Linked DNA regions of Homo sapiens: region 2 is linked to region 1. The links are contacts of gene promoters, found by promoter capture Hi-C in blood cells and fetal thymus (Javierre and others, 2016). All regions are on one chromosome and are shown on one strand. The core of a region is centred on a gene start or on the middle of the fragment in contact, and the rest is flanking DNA. Distances in the headings are between cores, read along the strand shown. Region 1 holds the start of RSL24D1 (ribosomal L24 domain containing 1). Region 2 has its middle 4.4 kb from the start of NEDD4.

Region 1 (3,842 bases), core at 750-3,249:
AAGTACAGGAGACTGAGGCTGCAGAGAGCCATGATCACACATCTGCACTCCAGCCTGGGCAATAGACAGTGAGACCCTGTCTCAAAAAAAAAAAAAAAAAAAAAGGCTAGATAAGAGGCTATAAAAGTGGTAAGAGCCTAATCTGAACTAGGACAGGAAAGTAGAAAGAAGGCAAAGACACCACTATCTTTGCAGAGGCAGGATAGGTAAGACTTGATAACTAGATACAAAAGGTGAAAAGATTCAGACGACTCTCATGTTTCTAGCAAAACTATCCGGGCACTTAAGAGTGGTATTAATTCACAGAGCAAAAAGATCTGAGGTACTAAGGAATTCTCTTTCAGTAGGCCCACTGTACCTACTGTTAGGTACATCCAATGGAAAATTCAGATTTGGAGCTCAGGAGATTTAGGTTTGGAAATCAAGCATAAAAAAAGATGAGATACTTGTTCTTTGTTAGTGCTTCAGGCCCTCTATCTTTTATTTCCTCCAACAACTCTCTTCTGGATCCACTGGTGACTCCCAACCAACTCAACACTGTCCTTATTCTTCATCAACTTAACTTCCACTGTGTCTACCAAATCAATACCCAGGTCTTGACAGTTCTCACGATCTGTTGTTCTAATTCCAATATCCAGCCGACAAGCATCCTGGACGAAAATCACAAAATCGTAACGACATCATGTATAAAACCATACTGCCTACTCTGAATTAGACCCCAACCTGGCAATCTTTTGGTTCATTTTTATAAACTTCTTATCATGTTCCTGAGAGCAAGTATTCAAAATCTTCTAGGTTCTTTTACGTTATCAAACATGGCTTTGGTCCGTCACTTTCAGCTGAATCCCTTGGATCTAATTAATGAGGTCAATATCTTTGATCTGTTACAGAGATATAAGGTGAAGAAGTCAGACTTGTAATTATTTAGCACGTCAAATTCACCTTAATATACAGATTCTTAGACCCTCTTCCCCTCCCCCAAAGATTCCAACTCAATAGATCTGGTGAAAACCAGGAATCTGTAAACGCCCAGTAATTCAGAAGCAAACGTAAGAGATCAAATTCTGAGAAACAATGTGTTTCTCTGAGAAAGAGAGGAACGGGATTCATTCTGTAATGACAGGACAAATTCATGTACCATTCAAAACGTCTTTCACAACTAGGACTCATATTTATTATTTACGTTTACAGACTTATTATACTTGTAGCCCTACGCCCAAGGCTCTATCATCATTTACAATCCAGTCACTTCCTCAAACAAATGTATTTGCTCCGTTCTCTGCCTTTTCTCAAAATGTTCACTTTCCTTCCACTTAGAAGGCCCCCTCCGCTTTCTTCCGCAAAATTCAGGATCCAAGATAAATATCACCTCTATGCTGAGTCTTTCCGTACAGGACCCTCCCCAACTCACCTGCAGTAACTTAATACATAACTCTACCATTAAGCAATACGGAACACTTCCATCAACCTCTACACTTTAGTATGGACCTTAGTGTAATGCCTGACAGGGTATACACTCAACAAAGTTTACTGGATTCAAGAATTTGGCCCAAGTACATGAGTGGCCAAACAGCCCTCACAGACATCCAAGATTCCTGGTAGGCGCTAGCTGGGATCGCTCCTGAAGTTCCTCGCTGCCAACGCCACCCAAGGGTGGCGTGGTGGCCAGCGCCGCTCGGAAGACGGGCAAGGAGAAACCCCCGAAGCGGAACGTTGAGAACGGAGGCCCAGTTAAGCCACCCTCCCAGGGGAACAACGGGAGGAACCCGGGCCAAACACGGCAGACGCAGAAGCACCCAGCACCGAGCCGCCGCGCCCAGGAACCGCGGGAGCTAGGCTGAAGCAAGAACTGGTGTCGACCGCCTTACCTTGCAATCGTTGCGGACGAACATCATGCCGTGTCCAGGATAGATGGGCCCCGAACAGAAATAACACTTTTCGATACGCATGTTGAACCCGCGTGTAACCCCACCAAACAAACGCCAAGCTTGAGAGGAAGTGATGCAACCCCGTCACCGGAAGTTACCTTCTTCCCCCTTCCCCGACCGGAAAAAGGCAAGCGTCCTTCGTTCTCGCGGGTCTGTTAGACCAGATGCGAACACGACTGTGCCTCCGGCGGCCGTGTGGTCAAATGCGCTGCCGTTTGACGCAGGCGCAGAGCTGCAGACTAGACCTGTTCGCTGTTACTTTGGGGAAATGTGGTTCTGCGCCACCTTGTGAACTTGCTCTCACAGCGCCTAGTTTTTTCTCTCTGTGTGTCGGCATTTATGCAAGTATTATGTATCTTTGGTTTGTGCTTTGCCTCGGAGTGCTCTCGAGAGCACTCTCTTAACTCATTTGTCTACTGCCTGCCCTAGACCAGCCCTCGATTCTCGTCCCACAGTGATTTGCAGGGTGTAAGCGGCGAAGACCCTGCAATCCAGCGTTGCTTCGAACATTGCAATGAAAACGGTTGAGTTGCTGATGCTCCAAGGACTTTACCAGCAATTTTTTTAAATATAAAATCGTGTTATCCGCCTCCCCCCCATTTTAATTAATATGCATATGTAGTAAACAAATATTTTCGCCGGAAACTACGACTCCCTCCCTAGACCTGCGGTCTTCCTCCCCAGGGGCAAAACAGTTCCATTTATTACCTGCCAGAGCTTTTCTGTGCATAGGCAAACATGTATATTTGTGTGTTTGCCTGTCTCTACGTCCTCTTCTTTATAATACTAGTTAATATGCTATTTACTCTTTTCTGCATCTTGCTGTTACCTTGTATCCCTTCATTGGAATGTGAGCTCCATGAGGGGCAGGGATTTCAGTTCGTTTGGTTTACAACTACATCCCAGTATCTAGAACAGTCCCTGGCACATAATAGGCATTTGATACATATTTTACTGTAAAAGGGTATTTAACATTCTTTTTCATATATATATGCCATTGTATGAAAGTATTTTAATTGGTCACTAATCGATGGGCATTCTTATCTTTTGATATAATAAGTATCTGTTGGTACGCTTTTTCAGGAGAGGGTTTATGTAGAACTGCTGGATCAGAGGAGCTGGATATAGATAAATAGTTTTAAAATTTGGCAGATAATACTAAATTGCCTTCCAAAAGTTTTTACCAATTAACACTCAGCATCAACAAATAAGATGTCTGTTTCACTACCCCGCTGTGAAAAGTGATCTTTGCCAACCTGAGATGAAAATTTATCTTATTATTATTTCAACTTGAATTTAATTACAAATGATGTTAAGAATCTTTCACAATGTTTTTCAGCTTTTTTCTGTGAATTGCCTGTTCAGGTCCTACGCAGTTTTCTATTCTTTCGTTGATTTTCAACAGCACTTTACACGTTAAGGTTAGTCCTTTGCTGACATGCATTTAGAAATTATTTCCCTATCAATGTTTTAAGCTTTGCTCATGGTATTTTTCCATGCAGAAATATGTTGTTTATATATTCAGATTTATCCAATTTTTTTATGATTTTGGATTTGGTACTTTCCTTTAAACTGCACTTCTCACTCCAAAATTGTTTTTCAAAATGTTTTCTCTTATGTTTTGTAGTTTCATTTTTTTGCATTTGAATTTTCAACTCGTCTGGAATTTAAGTATAAATGACATAAGACTCCAGTGTCTTTCCCTCAGTGCTGTATGTTGATAAAGCATCCTTTCCCCCACTCACTCATAATGTCACATCTATGGCTCCATTTCTGGACTCAGTTCCATCGTTTTATTTGTTAATGTGCCACTGCCCAAATATTTAAATTATTGTCATTTTTTGAATAACTGGGTTTACCTCCTCTCCCTTTCTATTAGTTTTCATGCTGCTGATAAAGACATACCCTAGACTA
Region 2 (3,842 bases), core at 530-3,029, 800 kb after region 1:
TTACATGAGCCTCCAAACTGATTAAGAAGCAAGAAATGAATGAAAACCAGTAAACCTGGTCTAGACTTTCTAGTAGTCTGTATACGTAAACCTCTTTAACTCTGCCTATAGATTTCACTGTGATGCAGAAATTGTTTCTAGTTTTTAAAATATCACCCCCTGGGATCAAAATTGGATGTGGAATGTAACAATATGAAAGGTAATGATACGAAATGCACTTTAATGTTGGTAATTAATTCCCTAAGGGATATAAAAAAGTCTTGTTCAGAAGTTCTCCTTTAATTCTCTCTTACTCTTAATATCCCCTGGCTGCTTCCTTTCTAATAGTTAATGTTTGAGATTTTTAAGGTTCATTTTTTCTTCCACTGGAAACTCCCTGGACCTCATCCATTGCCATTGCCATTACCATAGTTTCAGCTACTTTCTTCATAGAGCCCATCTCAGATCCAGAGCTCAGTAGTGCAAGAAATGTTTATTTGATTTTCTGAAATGAACTAAGTTTCTGCCTCCAGTAGTAGAATACATAGTCCCAATCAATTCATTGGTCTTGCCTGACCCTCTTTTTGCTAAGCTGGATTCTGACTTCTAACAGGCTGTTGTGCTCCCTCATCTTGGTGATAAAGGTTCTCATCACTCCCTCCTGGAATTAGTAGATGTATCTGTGTTCCCGCTGGCCTCTAGCTGTGGACATCTTTATCAAGTAGAATTACATTTGGCTGTTACCTAAACTAATAAGATTTAAAGATTCATGTTATATGGCTGTCATGTAAAAGTCTAGACAGTGGGCAGGGCAGGGTTAATATGGCTAGTTTGCTCTGCCAAAGGGTCAGAAATTCAGGCACTTCACAGCTCACTGCTCTGATGTTTGTAGGTGTGACCCTTATCCTCATAGTCCAGAGAGTGGCTCAAGCTTCAATCATTACGTCTATGTTCCAGGTTACAAGGCAGAGGAAGGAGTAAAGAAGAGAGTTCAGGTATCATGGTCATCTTTTAAAATGCCCTCCTCACCCCACAAGGGGTGGGAGGTAGTGAGAAAGACGGCCAGGTGCAAGGCAGTGGGACCCAGGTGTGTTCAAGGAAGGGTTTGCTTGGTGGACTGGTGATGGCAGAAATGGGAAATTAGTTACTTGTAGAGACAAGTGATCCAATAAGTGAATATATGAATGATAATGAGAACCACATTAGTCACTGTTGAAGAAGTTACAAGAATGGAAAGAGAAAACTTGAATGAGTCTTGTGTTGTTATAATGAAATTGGTGGTGTTGATATGAACTCAAAAGTTTTTAACATATATATATAGTATATAAATAAATGTAGATGTAAACCTCTGCTGCATACACACACACACACACACACACACACACACACACACAAATATTTTCTACATTTGTATTCTAAGAGGGCCTGGGAACAATGACACCCCAAAAGCAATGAGCATATCTTGCATCCATATTTTAACTTTTTACTAAAAGAAACCAGGGCTCCTTGGAAAAATGGCTGATTCCAGGACTAGGACAAGGCAAATAAAAGTTGAGCCTGAAACATCTTGTTATCCCAGAAAATAATGAAAGTAATGATGGAGACAGAATAAAAGGACACAGGAACCAACCTGAAAAAAGCTCCCACTGGCCAAAGATGGCCTAACTTGAGCACTAAAATAAATTATGATAGCAACAGATTATAATCCAATGAATAATTCTGGTACCATGTGTTCATTACAGATATAAATTATAATAAATGAGTACATTCAAAGTTCAATGAAAAATGAGATTTTTACAGGGTTCAACATATATTTCCAGAAAGTACTTAGTTACATAGATTAAAAGGCTGAAATATACCACCTTAATCAAATGATCAAAGTGAACATTTGATAAACCAAAATCTTGCAACCCATTGCTTTTCCTCCATAACTTGGATCTAATCATGAGAAAACAAATCCAATTTAAGGAACGTACTACAAAATATCTGCCCTGTAATCTTCAAAAGTGTCAAGGACATAGAAGTCAAGAAAGTTGGAGGAACTGTTCCAGACTGACAGATTAAAGACCCTGTATTATGGTTCCCTAGAGAAACAGAACCAATAGGATGCAGATATATAAAGAGATTTGTTATGGCTGGGCACGGTGGCTTACGCCTATAATCCCAGGTTTGGAGTGCAGTGGTGCTATCTTGGCTCACTGTAACCTCTGCCTCCTGGGTTCAGGTGATTCTCTTGCCTCAGTCTCCTGAGTAGCTGGGATTACTGGTATGTGCCACCATGCCTGGCTAATTTTTCTATTTTTAGTAGAGATAGCGTTTCACCATGTTGGCTAGGCTGGTTTTGAACACCTGGCCTCAAGTGATCTGCCTGCCTTGGCCTCCTAAAGTGCTGGGATTACAGGCATGTGCCATCATACCCAGTGTCAACATATTTTTTTCTACCAGGAGTTTCAAAGCTCTATTTTAAAACTTATAAGCTGAGCATTGACTTATCTTTCTCTTTTCATTTCTGTAGTAACAGTTCTAGCCTGAGGGCAGTAATCAGAAAACCTCACTGCTGTCTGACTGGAGCCAGAGGAAGGGCGGCAGGATATTCCAGGAATATAAGTAGTTATCAACAATAAAATTTCACAATACCTTGCTATAGCTTCCACACCCTTATCTCTTACCTAAGCTTCAGACCTGTATTTCCCACTAACTGTCTCTTTCTTGGTATCATGAAAAAAGTCTCAAACTAAATAGATCCCAAAATGAACTCATTATAATCCTGTATTCTGTGTCTCTGGAAATAGCATTATTGTCTATCTAGTTGCAAAGGCTAGAGACTTCTGAGTATTCTAAAATTCATACCCCCTGCCCATTCCTACAACTTCTTCCTATCACCAGTTTGTTATACAATTGAAATTCTTTCCTCTTCTACCTAAGATTTTTTTTCTCTTCTTATTGGTATCCATGGCTAATGTCGGTACACCCATCATTGTCTGGTAATTGGCTCAGACTGGTAGCTTTTTGTCTTTTTTTGTTTCACCCTATATCTTCTGAGACAAATGTTTGCATGCAGTAATTTTTTTTGAGACACACTCCCAAGCAGTAGTGTGCTGGACTCAACTCATACTGGCATCCAAGGTACAATTGTGTACACCTCTATCCAACTGCAGATTTGGTGATGTCATGTTGGTAGCTTGAAATTATGGTGTATTTATATCACAGAAATAGGCAAACACTACAAACCAAGATCATTTTATTTTCCTGGAGAGGCAGTTATTAAACATTTATCGGAACGCGACTGAGCCTAGGAAACATGAGTGAGGGACTGAAAAGAGTAAAACAAGGAATGGCATAAGACCCATGCAGTGATTTTGTAAATTTTTTAGTTTCCTTTACATGATTAACCTGATTTGGGCTCGATATCACTAAGGACCCTTCAGGAGTCATATAGAATGTACCTCAGAATTGTTCTACCAAGAAGGGAGTATTTATTCGTTAGTTTCCATTCCCTATTGGACAGGGGTTATTTCATAGGATGTTAATATTTGCAGATTTCCTTGTGTATAGAATGGCTGAATTGGCTCCTACAGGTATGTCCAACAGCAGTGGCAGTGAGGCACAGGGGCAGAAAGTGAAATATACATTAAACAACTAAAATGAGTTGCTGTCTGGTTACATCTCTACATCTTTGGTTGCTGCAGCAAGGACTGGAGTAAAGGTTAGTTGAGAGGGTATGAGTCAGAGTGCAAGAGGAATCTAATACATGTGCAGATCTGCCCCACACTTAGTCCATTCTGCCGTAGGGTCTTTGAGGTGTGTCCAGTATTTACCTCTCCAAAAGACTTGATAGACAAGGGTTTCTAGGATAAGCTGCA

Evidence for each region. Contacts are between HindIII fragments. The CHiCAGO score rates a contact against its expected background, and 5 or more counts as called.
Region 2: a fragment that was not itself captured here is called in contact with the fragment with the promoter of RSL24D1 in region 1 in 1 of 17 cell types (non-activated CD4 T cells); the score reaches 5.3 in non-activated CD4 T cells.

The regions. Positions count from the first base shown.
Region 1 is chr15:55,194,942-55,198,783 of GRCh38, forward strand. It overlaps RSL24D1 (ribosomal L24 domain containing 1), which reads right to left and starts at 2,000. Exons shown (of 6, transcript NM_016304.3): 1 at 1,869-2,000. The coding sequence starts at 1,949. RefSeq lists enhancers at 1,120-2,011, 1,805-1,964. The HindIII fragment of the contact is 1,416 bases long and covers 1,986-3,401 here.
Region 2 is chr15:55,996,113-55,999,954 of GRCh38, forward strand. No RefSeq gene overlaps it. Among named protein-coding and RNA genes, the nearest start is that of NEDD4, 4.4 kb to the left of the region's middle. The HindIII fragment of the contact is 1,743 bases long and covers 909-2,651 here.